Regions from separate parts of the Homo sapiens genome. Here all the other regions are linked to region 1. Evidence: promoter capture Hi-C in 16 types of primary human blood cells and fetal thymus (Javierre and others, 2016). All regions are on one chromosome and are shown on one strand. The core of a region is centred on a gene start or on the middle of the fragment in contact, and the rest is flanking DNA. Distances in the headings are between cores, read along the strand shown. Region 1 holds the start of TUFT1 (tuftelin 1). Region 2 overlaps SNX27 (sorting nexin 27). Region 3 overlaps SNX27 (sorting nexin 27). Region 4 overlaps POGZ (pogo transposable element derived with ZNF domain).

The links. The method cuts DNA at HindIII sites, captures the fragments that hold promoters and counts their contacts. A CHiCAGO score of 5 or more calls a contact.
Region 2: a fragment that was not itself captured here is called in contact with the fragment with the promoter of TUFT1 in region 1 in 2 of 17 cell types (M2 macrophages and erythroblasts); the score reaches 6.3 in M2 macrophages.
Region 3: a contact is called between a fragment that was not itself captured here and the fragment with the promoter of TUFT1 in region 1, in 1 of 17 cell types (M2 macrophages). The highest score is 6.0, in M2 macrophages.
Region 4: a fragment that was not itself captured here is called in contact with the fragment with the promoter of TUFT1 in region 1 in 1 of 17 cell types (erythroblasts); the score reaches 5.1 in erythroblasts.

The regions. Positions count from the first base shown.
Region 1 is chr1:151,539,053-151,542,033 of GRCh38, forward strand. TUFT1 (tuftelin 1) reads left to right here and starts at 1,257. Exons shown (of 13, transcript NM_020127.3): 1 at 1,257-1,374. The coding sequence starts at 1,315. RefSeq lists enhancers at 2-518, 1,034-1,549, 1,550-2,064. The HindIII fragment of the contact is 3,648 bases long and covers 908-2,981 here.
Region 2 is chr1:151,616,049-151,619,008 of GRCh38, forward strand. The region is part of intron 1 of SNX27 (sorting nexin 27); the gene reads left to right. Among named protein-coding and RNA genes, the nearest start is that of SNX27, 5.5 kb to the left of the region's middle. RefSeq lists an enhancer at 2,574-2,960. The HindIII fragment of the contact is 3,445 bases long and covers 1-2,960 here.
Region 3 is chr1:151,641,564-151,644,512 of GRCh38, forward strand. The region is part of intron 2 of SNX27 (sorting nexin 27); the gene reads left to right. Among named protein-coding and RNA genes, the nearest start is that of SNX27, 31 kb to the left of the region's middle. The HindIII fragment of the contact is 6,315 bases long and covers 1-2,949 here.
Region 4 is chr1:151,421,842-151,424,942 of GRCh38, forward strand. POGZ (pogo transposable element derived with ZNF domain) reads right to left here. Exons shown (of 19, transcript NM_015100.4): 9 at 2,108-2,445; 10 at 1,556-1,710. Among named protein-coding and RNA genes, the nearest start is that of PSMB4, 24 kb to the left of the region's middle. The HindIII fragment of the contact is 2,697 bases long and covers 318-3,014 here.

The sequences.
Region 1 (2,981 bases), core at 7-2,506:
GTAGCTGGGATTACAGGCGCGTGCCTCCACACCCAGCTAATTTTTGTATTTTTAGTAGAGATGGCGTTTCACTGTGTTGGTCAGGCTGGTCTCAAACTCCTGACCTTGTGATCCGCCCACCTCGGCCTCCCAAAGTGGTGGGATTACAGGCATAAGCCACTGCGCCTGGCCAGCAGTAAATGCCTTTTTGAGGGTTAGAGTAGAACAGACCAGAACTGGGTTTTATTCCCTTGGGTCATAGTGATAACCCCAGCATTCACTTCCCAGGTAGAAAAATCCTCATTCATTCCTAACTGACATAGGACCCAGTCCCTAACTGGGAGGTAGGGACATTTCTGCTGTTCCTGCCCTAGTGTTGCCTTGAAGAGGGAGCTGGCCCTTCACTAGAGCCTATTGCCAGGTATAGGAGTACTATCCCTTCAGGAGTGGGTCAGACCTCCTCCTAAAGTATTCTGTCTGCTGTCTCTGTGGACCACAGCCAAGTGAAGAAGCCATCTGCCAAGAGCAGCTGGGCGGGGACGAAGCTCCAGGGTCCTGCTTGGCCAACCCTCTCTTCTAGGCCCTCAAGATCCCAGCCTAGGCTTGGGGAGAAAATGCAACTGGAAAAGTCAAGGCTCATCCTTTCTCACGAACACAAATTCCTTTTAAGGCAATGTGTCCCGCCTCTCCCAACTATATAAGGGCAGCGTCAGTAAAAGAGCTTCTGCAAAACAAGCCCCACCCAGAGCCTAAGCTGACTGGGCCTCCTGGGCCTCTTGCCAAGGAAGTGCACCTGCCAGACTGGCTTAGGCCAGTCTGAGTGAGCTGGACCTTGGTGCCTGCCTTTCTGCGGTGGAGGAAAGGTTTACTCAGCTCCACAAAGCCTACAGGTGGCTTACGTATAGGGAGAGGAGCATGTATGGAAGGAAGCTTTTGCAGGTTCCAACTCCTCATCCACTAGGAGCAGGCAGGGTGATTCCCTCTGACCAACACTGATCTTGGAAAGATGGAAAGCGACAAGATTAATGAAGAATGTGCAACCACATACTCCAGATAAAGCTGTTCAGTTAAAGCAGCCCCATGTCGCTCCCAAGCCCCACCTTTGTGTAAATCTATGCGAGCACCGATGGGGCATGTCCCAGACCCATTGGCTCCGCCCACCTCACCTCCTCGCCTATCGTTAGTTCTCTGCGAAACCGCGAACTGGGGGCGCGGCCTATCTTCAGCCCCGCCCCTGATGGGCCTATACAAGGGGGCGGTTCCGCGCGCGCCCGCCCAGTTGGAGCCAGACAGCGGGGTGGACAAGTGGCGTGTGTGCTGCGACCCCGAGGGAAGATGAACGGGACGCGGAACTGGTGTACCCTGGTGGACGTGCACCCAGAGGACCAGGCGGCGGTAAGAAAAAGCGCTCTCGCTGTCTTCTCCGTTTTGTATTCCCGGTTTCTAAGTCCGCCCCTTCCGTGCCCCGCGCCGTGTTGGCTGACATCACCTGGTGCCCGGCTCGCGCGGTCAGCCCTGCGCGGCGCTTCTCTCTTTTTATTCTTTTGCCTGCGACGGGCAGTGGGAGTCGCGGGGTGAAGACTCCTTTGAGGCTGGAGGGTTCGGGGCGTCCCTGCCCTTTGGTAGGACACTGCGGCTCCTGCCTGGGACTCGGCGCCGGCGAGCCCGTGCTTGGGCCGCGGGTCTCAGGCGTCTTTTGGGCAGCCACATTGGGTCATAAGAGAATGAGCTCAAGCGACTGGGTCCCTGAGCGCCTTTGGACGTTGTGTCCTGCCGAGGAGGCTTAGGCTTTCCCGTGGGTCGAGGGTCCTGGTGACCTCCGAGGCCCTCCAAAGAATTTCATCATGGTGCTTTGGATGATCAGTAACAAGAAAAATGGTAGAGTAAATTACAGGGCTTGGACTGGAGGGCGGGGGGCAAGTAGGGGACGGTAGGACTCAAACTATTCCGAGATTGGCTAGGGACTCTACCTTTCGCTAAGGGATAGGGCTTTCCGCCCGGGGGTCACCTCTTGTCTTGGATTTCTCCTTCTTCCCCCTTGTAGTTCTCTTGTTTTCCTCCCTCTATCTGCCTGCCGATAGCTTCCTGGGACGGTGTGTTAGTTTTGCTTCCGTCTCCAGCCGCCAGGCCCTGGGATAGTGGAGGAAGGGGATGCAGAACCCGGGCCGAGAAGGGGAGGGAAGTGACCCAAGCGAAGGCTTCTGGACGGGGAGAGGGTTGCGGAGAAAGGGGGCGTTCTCCAGTGCAGGCTGGTCTACCCCTCTCTCCTCTTTCTCTGGCTCCCAGTCCCAGTTCTCCCCACCCTAGCTGACCATATGGTTTTTCCTCTCCAGAGGCTGAGGAGGGTAATTTGTGGCTGAGTGTTTCTAGGCTCTTTTGGGGAACTTAACCCAGATTAGGTGTGTACTATTTCATCAATTTCCAAGCTATTGTGGGTGGGAGTGAAATGAAAACTAAGGTGATGGGGAACTTGTGTATCATCCCCCCTCCCACATCTGACTCCCTTACTCTCTGCCTGCCTCATCCTGCTCTTGAGGTAGAGCTAACCCAACTGCAGCTAGATTATGGCTCTTCTTCAAACTCATTTCAGGTTTAGAATACAGATGGTCATTTAGTTCTTTTCCCAGTCCCCTCTCCATTTCTGCCTGGGCTATGAGTGTTTTTGCCACATTAAAATACAGATGTTGCTATTGGCCAACCCCAGTTGCCCAAACCCCATTCTTCTGTAGCCTGCCACATCCCCAGCTATGAGACTCTGAAGAGATGGAAGAAATCTATCCATTATGTGTCAGCCACAAGTCCTACTCCCTGCTCTTTGTTTTTAAGCGACGAGTGTCTTGCTATGTTGCCGGAGCTGCAGTACAGTGGCTCTTCACGGGTGCAATCATAGCACACCACAGCCTTGAACTCCTGGCCTCAATCCTTCTGCCTCAGCCTCCTGAGTAGCTGGGACTTCAGATGCACACCACCTATAGCTTCTCTTCCATGCTCTTGCTCTCTCT
Region 2 (2,960 bases), core at 14-2,513, 77 kb after region 1:
AGATGGAAAGTTTTTTTGACTAGCAAAGCTGGTTTCCACCTTGTAATTTTTCCCAGTGTAACATATACTGAGTGTTTTCCCTTTGATGTGTATGTACCTGGAGGCTAATGAGTAAAGAATGCTTTCAACAAACAGAACCAAAATAAATATGTCTTTGCACTAATTATATAGTATGTGAAGTAACATTTGACTTCAGGTTAATTTTCTTAAGGTTAAAGTAGTTCCAAGGACTCTTGATTGATTTCTCGAGAGACGCTGCTGGAAGGTTTTAGTGTGTGGTGGATATGGATATAAAACTGTCTGTATTTTTGAAGGATTAGTTTAAGCATGGACCACTAAGATTGGCTTGCAAGCATTCAAAATCATGATATATTTATGCTAGTCAGTATATATGCTTTCCTCTTTGATAGCCACCAGATAATAGACTCATCAACTTTCCCTCATTAAAGTCATAAGATAAAATAAAACTGTGTATATCAATTTGTTTTTTGAAAGTCAGTTTTTTAACTTCATTTTATGTGAGAGTTTGAAAATGAATTAAAGAGGCTGGTGCCACAAGAAGTATTTTTATGAGTTAAGTGTGAGTCATGTAACACAGACTAGGTACCGTCTCAAAAGCCGCTTTCTCAATTGCAACTGAATTCTATTTGACTGATATTTTCTAGGTAGATTTTGGTAATGTTTGAAATAATGAAATCATGGTTATTGATCAAAGGAAATTTGTTTGGCAGCGGTTCTCAGGCTTTAGGGTACATGAGAAGCACTTGGGTGTGCTTATCTAAAGTACAGATTCTCAGGCTCACCTTTTAAGGGTTATGATTCAGTAGATCTTTCATAGGGCCTAGAAATCTTTATTTTTTTACTCCTTTGCCAGGTGTGGGTAATGCAACCCACATACTCAGTTACATGCCCAGGGTGATGCAGTAGGTTGTAGGCCTTGGATTCTCAGTTCATTTTATCTTCATGATTATATTGAGAGTAATGAGCTAAGGTTATACCAACAAATAGTGAATTGTTAGGCTCTCGAATTCCAACCTAAGTGGAAAATCAGTTAAATACTAACTGTTCTATCTGATCGTCTATACTTTATTTATTGGATCTTGCTAAGCTCTTGAAATAAAGATGGATGGTTAAGAGGTAGCACAAGTTAATATTAATAGTTATAATAATCATTTTACTGCTTTGCAGCGTGTATAGTGTGTTATAGTTTGTAGTTTTATTTATTTATTTATTTATTTATTTATTTAGAGACAGCGTTTCACTCTTGTTGCCCAGGCTGGAGTGCAGTGGTGCGATCTCGGCTCACTGCAACCTCCGCCTCCCGGGTTCAAGCAATTCCCCTGCCTCAGCTTCCCAAGCAGCTGGGATTACAGGCATGTGCCACCACGCCCATCTAATTTTTGTATTTTTAGTAGAGACGGGGTTTCTCCATGTTGGTCAGGCCAGGCTGGTCTCAAACTCCCCACCTCAGGTGATCAGCCCGCCTCGGCCTCCCAAAGTGCTGGGATTACAGGCATGAGCCACTGCGCCCAGTCAGTCTGTAGTGTTTTTACATCTGATCTTCACACAGTCCTGTGAGATAGGAAGATTATAAGCTCATCAAGGGCAGGGACTACATCAAATACTATGTATTTGTTGTATCCCTAGCCAAATGTCTGGTGGCCCATGGAAAGTATTCTTCAGTAAATACTTGCCAAATGAATATATGAGTATTATCCCTATTTTATAAGACAGGAAATGGAAACTGAGTGTTGTACCAATGAATGGCAACCAGAATTAAATCCAGATCTTTGGATTCTAGATCTTGAATATTTTCTCTTTTTAGAGCTGTTTTTTTTTTTTTTTTTTTTTTTAAAGAGATAGGAGTCTCACTATGTTGCCCAGGCTGTACTTGAATTCTGGGCTCAAGTGATCCTCCCACCTCAGCCTTCCGAGTAGCTGGCACTACAGGCATGCACTACCACACCTGGCTAATTTTTTTGTACTTTTTTTTTTTTTTTGTAGAGATGGGGTTGCCATGTTGCCCAGTGTGGTCTTGAACCCCTGGCCTCAAGTGATCTGCCCACTTTGGCCTCCTAAACCGCTGGCATTGCAGGCTTGAGCACCTGGCTGCTTAAAATTCAGTTACATTCATATAAACGTCGATAGTGGTTGAACTTTGGTTCTACTATTGTGAAATGTAACTATTTTATATCTTTATTTACTCACTATTACCCATTGTTAAATTGGATGAGAGACAGGGGACTAAAGCAGGCATTCTTTGCCTTTATTATTGCTATCTTTACCCTGTTGGTTATCAGTGAAGACAGCAGAACAATCATTTTTAAATTCCTTTTAATTTCACAGGTAGTTGAGGTTGCAAACAAATAAAACTAAATTTGAAAATAGCATTACCTTCCCCTCAGAAATCACTTCCACAGATTGCTGTAACCAGGAAAATATATTTTATTAGTAGCATAACAATTTGTCTGGGTCTTTTAACTTATTGTGAAGAACAGTTCTTTTTCCATCCACCACTGACCAGTTTTTTTCAGATGAGGGCCTGTTACCATGCTCTCAAAGATAATTATTTTTCTAGGTAAGTCCCATTGGGAATAATTCTTATGACCTTGTAGATAAGCAAAGAGACTTAATTGACAAGCAGACACTTAACAATTTATGATCACTGCTCAAAATGCTTTTTGAGCATAATCTTTGGCAGGTTCATTCATTAGATGATGGCATTGCTGACAAAAGGATATTGTGGTGGTTTAGGTTAGAGCCATTTAGGTTCATTCTTTTCTTCCACCTCAGCTATACAGATGTTTTCTGTGCTTCTTGGGCAATCCAGTAAGAGCCCATGGATGGGTTGGTACAGTTCAGCCCACATTTGGAAAAAAATTTTAGGCAGTTTTAAAATATCTTTTAAAAAATTGCAGCTCATAGTAAGAGATACATTTTACATTATAACCTAATATATA
Region 3 (2,949 bases), core at 302-2,801, 100 kb after region 1:
CTTTATACATTCTGGTTCTACAAGTCCTTTATCAGATATATATATATATATATATATATATATATATCATATGTATCATATATATATCATATGTATCAGATATATATATCATATATATCTGATATATATATCATATATATGATATATATAGCATATGATATATATCAGATAGATATATCAGATACATATATATCATATATATGCTATATATATCTGATATATATGAGATATATAAGATATAGATATATATGAGATATATATGTCAGCTATAGATATATATGAGATATATATATCAGCTATAGATATATATGATATATATATCAGCTATAGATATATATGAGATATATATATCAGCTATAGATATATATGAGATATATATATCAGCTATAGATATATATGAGATATATATATATCAGATATAGATATATATGAGATATATATATCAGATATAGATATATATGAGATATATATATATCAGATATATATGATATATTTTCCAGTAGCTTGAAAAAGGACTTAGATAAGCCAGGCGCAGTGGTTCATGCCTGTAATCCCAGCACTTTGGGAAGCTGAGGTGGGCAGATCACCTGAGGTCGGTGGATCACTTGAGGTCAGGAGCTCGAGACCAGGCTGGCCAATATGGTGAAACCCCGTCTCTACTAAAAATACAAAAATTAGCCGGGCGTGGTGGCAGGAGCCTGTAATCCCAGCTACTTGGGAGGCTGAGGCAGAAAAATCACTTGAACCCGGGAGGCTGACCTTGCAGTGAGCCGAGATTGTGCCATTGCACTCCAGCCTGGGCAACATCTCAAAAAAGAAAAAAAAAAAGGGACTTAGATGTTTTGTAAATATTTGAGTTTGCGACTTGCCTTTTCATTTTTTAAAACAGTATCTTTCAAGGAACAGAAATTTTAAATTTTGATATAGTCTCGTTTATCAGTTTTTAAATTTATGGATAATGCTTTTTTGTGTTCTAAGAAATCTACCTAACCCAAGGACACCAATCTTTTATGTTTTCTTACAGTTTTATAGTTTCAGCTATCTTTTTTTGTAAGAACTTTATTATTATTTATTTATTTATTATTAGTTTTTTGAGATGGAGTCTTGCTCTGTCACCCAGGCTGGAGTGCAGTGGCGCAATCTTGGCTCACTGCAAGCTCCGCCTCCATGGTTCACGCCATTCTCCTGCCTCAGTCTCCCGAGTAGCTGGGACTACAAGTGTCTGCCACCATGTCCGGCTAATTTTTTTGTATTTTTTAGTAGAGACGGGGTTTCACTGTGTTAGCCAGGATGGTCTCGATCTCCTGACCTTGTGGTCCACCCGCCTCGGCCTCCCAAAGTGCTGGGACTACAGGCGTGAGCCACCGCGCCCTGCCTATTTTTTATTTTTGTTTTATTTTATTTTATTTTATTTTTTGAGACGGAATTTCACTCTTGTTGCCCAGGTTGGAGTGCAACGGCGTGATCTTGGCTCACTGTAACCTCTGCCTCCTGGGTTCAAGTGATTCTTCTGCCTCAGCCTCCTAGAGTAGCTGGGATTACAGGCATGTGCCACCACACCCGGCCAATTTTGTATTTTTAGTAGAGACAGGGTTTCTCCATGTTGGTCAGGCTGGTCTGGAACTCCTGACCTCAAGTGATCCGCCCGCCTCGGCCTCCCAAAGTACTGGGATTACAGGCATGAGCAACCACGCCTGGCCTTTTATTTATTTATTTATTTATTTATTTATTTATTTATTTATTTATTTTGAGACGGAGTCTCCCTCTGTCACCCAGGCTGGAATGCAGTGGTGCGATCTCGGCTCACTGCAACCTCGGCCTCCCGGGTTCAAGCAATTCTCCTGCCTCAGCCTCCCCAGCAGCTGGGACTACAGGCACATAGCACTGCGTCCAGCTAATTTATGTGTTTTTAGTAGAGATGGGGTTTCACCATGTTGGCCAGGCTGGTCTTGAACTCCTGACCTCATGATCCGCCTGCCTCGGCCTCCCAAAGTGCTGAGATTACAGGTGTGAGCCACTGCACCCAGCCATAAGAACTTTATTAAGATATGATTTATATACCATACGTTCACCTAAAGTGCACAATTTAGGGTTTTTTTTATTTTTTTATTTTTTAGACAGAGTTTCGCTCTTGTTGCTCAGGCTAGAGTGCAATAGTGCAATCTCGGCTCACCGCAACGTCTGCCTCCTGGGTTCAAGCAATTCTCCTGCCTCAGCCTCCCGAGTAGTTGTGATTACAGGCATGTGCCAGCACGCTCGGCTAATTTTGTATTTTTAATAGAGATAGGGTTTCTCCATGTTGGTCAGGCTGGTCTTGAACTCCTGACCTCAGGAAATCTGCCTGCCTTGGCCTCCCAAGGTGCTGAGATTACAGGCTTGAGCCACTGCGCCTGGCCAATTTAGTTTTTAGTGTGTTCACAGAGGTTGCAGTGAGCCCAGATCACACCACTGCACTCTAGTTTGGGCAACAAAGTGAGACTTCGTCTCAAAAAAAAAATAGATAAATAAAAGTACAATTAGTAATTTCATTCCTTTTCTCAAGTTCCCAAGGTTTTAGGTAATTCCCAAAAGGTCTCAACATCCAGTCTGCTCTACTTTTAGGATGTGACCTTGATTTCAACTTCTTACATGTCTTATGACTCAAAGTTAGCACTTTTGAAGCATAAAACAAATTTGTAACATTTTCATCACCTCAAAAAGAATCTCATTCCTTGTAGCCATCATTTTCCAAACCTCCCATCCCCTCCAATTCTAGGAAAGCACTAATCTATCCTCTGTCTTATAGATTTGCGTATTCTGGACATTTCATAGAAATGGAATCATGGTTTTTTTTGTAACTGGCTTCTTTCACTCAGCATAATATTTTTGAGGCTTATTCAAGTTGTAGCATGCATCAGTACTTCATTTTAACATTCCATTATATGGATATACCACTTTTATTTATCCATT
Region 4 (3,101 bases), core at 416-2,915, 120 kb before region 1:
TCCTGGGATCAAGTGATTCTCATGCCTTGGCTTCCTGAGTAGTTGGGATTACCTGCGCACACCACCACAGCCAGCGAATTTTTGTATTTTTAGTAGAGATGTGGTTTTGCCATGTTGGCCAGACTGGTCTCCCCTGGCCTCAACTGATCCACCCACCTAAGCCTCCCAAAGTGCTGGGATTACAGGTGTGAGCCACCACACCCAGTCCTTATTGTTTAATTCATTTTTAGTTAAGGATTTTTACTTGTAGCAAATGCATCCAGATAATATGCATATGTCTTCTATGCTTTTGATCATGCTGTTTTCAATCACCTAAAAGCTTTTCTTACTACTCTCCATCCATCTAAACCTTTCTTAAATTTAAGCACGACTTTCTTGGAAACCTAGCCACAAGGATTTTTTCCCTTCTCTGAAGTATTTCACCTATCAATGATATCTTAAAATGTCTATGTTTATAATATACTATCTTGTTCTCACATTTTCCTATATTTACATAATTTTTGTCTTTACAACAAAACTGGAAATCCCGTAAAGGACATGAGAAGTATTCTCAATACTGGGCTTAAATCCTCACTATGTATCCCCAGTAGAGGTGTATTTAGAGGTGTACGCTCATAAGCAAATGACTCAATTTCTTTGAGCTTATGTTCAGCCTACATCTATCTATAAAATGTACAGTGTAGAAAAACATTCCAGCTTACCTTATATTTCACTGAAAGCACTGTCTTAATGATAAAGTACTTCATAATATTATCTTTTTTTTTTTGGAGATGGAGTTTTGCTCTTGTTGCCCAGACTGGAGTGCAATGGCATGATCTCAGCTCACTGCAACCTCCGCCTCCCGGGTTCAAGCGATTCTCCTGTCTCAGCCTCCCGAGTAGCTGGGATTACAGGTGCCCGCCACCACACCCAGCTAATTTTTGCATTTTTAGTAGAGATGGGGCTTCGCCATGTTGGCCGGGCTGGTCTCGAATTCCTGACTTCAGGTGATCTGCCTGCTTCGGCCTCCCAAAGTGTTGGGATTACAGGCGTGAGCCACCGTGCCCGGCCATATTATCTTTTATCCTACTTAATTTCTTTGAGCTTATGTCCAGCCTACATGTATAAAATATACAGTGTAGAAAACACTCCAGCTCATCTTATATTTCATTGAAAGCAATGTCTTAATGATAAAGTACTTCACAATATTATCTTTTAGCCTACATAAAACCTATCAGGGTTTAACTAAAGTGGAAGAGCAAATAGATGACTGTTCCTTCTATAAAGAGACCTAAGAAATAAATTAATTACATTTGTTTTTCTACAGTGGTTCTGAATCAACGCCCCTAACAATTCAGGATCTAACACTGAACTCAATCCATGCTTGAACAAAATAAAAGTCAGGCTTGTAAAAAAAAACAAGGTGAATGAAGTAAAGAACTGGCTACAAATATGAAAAGTACTTCCTCTACACTGTTACCCACATGTAAATAAATATAATGGGCTCCCCCCAGCGCCATTCAATGAGTGAACAGCAAGGTATATTCCCCTTGAGTTTAAGAGTTTCCAAACTTACTAGTAGATTCATAGGGACTATGAACATTTTCCAAGTGGCACTGAAGCTGGAAGGGAGTGGAAAACTGGCGGTAACAGTGCTGGCAGATAGTGTGACCATCTACCTCACCGTTCTGCTGATCGAGTTCTACGTGGTGTTTCATATGGTTCATGAATCTGTAATAAAGCACAAAGAGAAAGTACAGAAAACATAAAAAATTGGTAGCCTTTTAGAAATATAATGGTAAAATCACAGAACAAACATTATCTGCTCCCCTCCATTCCCCAGACTTCCTGTTTGGGATATCCTTTTCTGAGCCCAGAAAGATAATGAGTTCTTGAAACTAAGAGAGTTCTGGGAAAGGAGACATACTGCTTTCCCTTACTCGATCCAGTTACCTTTTGTTTATTACCACAATATCTCCTTCTATAGTCCTAGTTATTGATTTAATGATAACCCCAGCAAGACTGCATAGTAGTTAGGTCCATTCTCCAAAGAGAAAGACTTAAAATATATAAGAAAATGTAAGTCTTCTCTTGTTCAAGGTAACTTCCAAGGCTCTTAAACACTTACCGAATATTGTTTTTTAGCCTTTTGGTACAATGTGGGCATCGGAAAGATGTGGCGACCTTAGGGAAATTTGTGAGCTGGGCTACTTTGCCACCATCCCGTCCATAGTAGAAGTCATCTACAAGCATAATGAGTTTGGTCTGGACGGCATCGCCCACGTTCTCATTTGGTTCTGGTACTTTGGTAGGCGGTGACAGAGCAGGAATAGGTGTAGAAGAGGGTGTGGAAGCAACAGGAGCTGTTTTCTCAGGGGATGGGGGCTTTGCTGCTGATGGGACACTGGGTTCTGAATCCAGGGACTTTCCTTTCTTCTGGTATTCAACCATTTCTGGGCAACAGTACTATAAAGAAAGACATCTGATCATTCTGGTTATCCTGGGGGCTAGAATGTGCTAACTCCTTAACTTCACTACCATTCCTTGTTAACGGTTTGGTTTCAGGTATTCTCATTCAGCTTTCACCCTTCAGTTTTTTTTAGCGTTTCCAAGTTTTACTCCTTTTCTAGAGTATATCCACATATGCCACCCAAGCGCTATACTTTGTATTTCTCCCTCCTGCCTGTCTTAGGTCCCTTAATCATTAGTATAACTTGGCTCTGAGCTCCCTGGCAAAGAAGAAGTTCCAACCTTTTTATCTGGACTAATACCAAAAAATGAAAAGCTAAAAAATGGAAGTAAGAGCTCCCGATTCATCCAATGACACAATTAACAAAAATGAACTGAGGCCAATATGGTTTGAGTCCTTATTATCTATAAACCTGTTCTCCTGTGTGGTTTCAAAATCTACCACACTAAGAAAGTAAGATCACATATGTTCTGATCTATTTGAGGGTCTTTAAATGTATCCCATCACATTCCAAAGTACACAGCTCTTCTAAAAACAGACCAAGAGAAACAGTAACCCTTTAAAAAGCTTCAGTCATTTTAGAGCCCCTGCTTACAAGCTTCCAATATTAATGAAGGTAAATGGCAGAAGCCACTTAAGCTGGATCACAGGT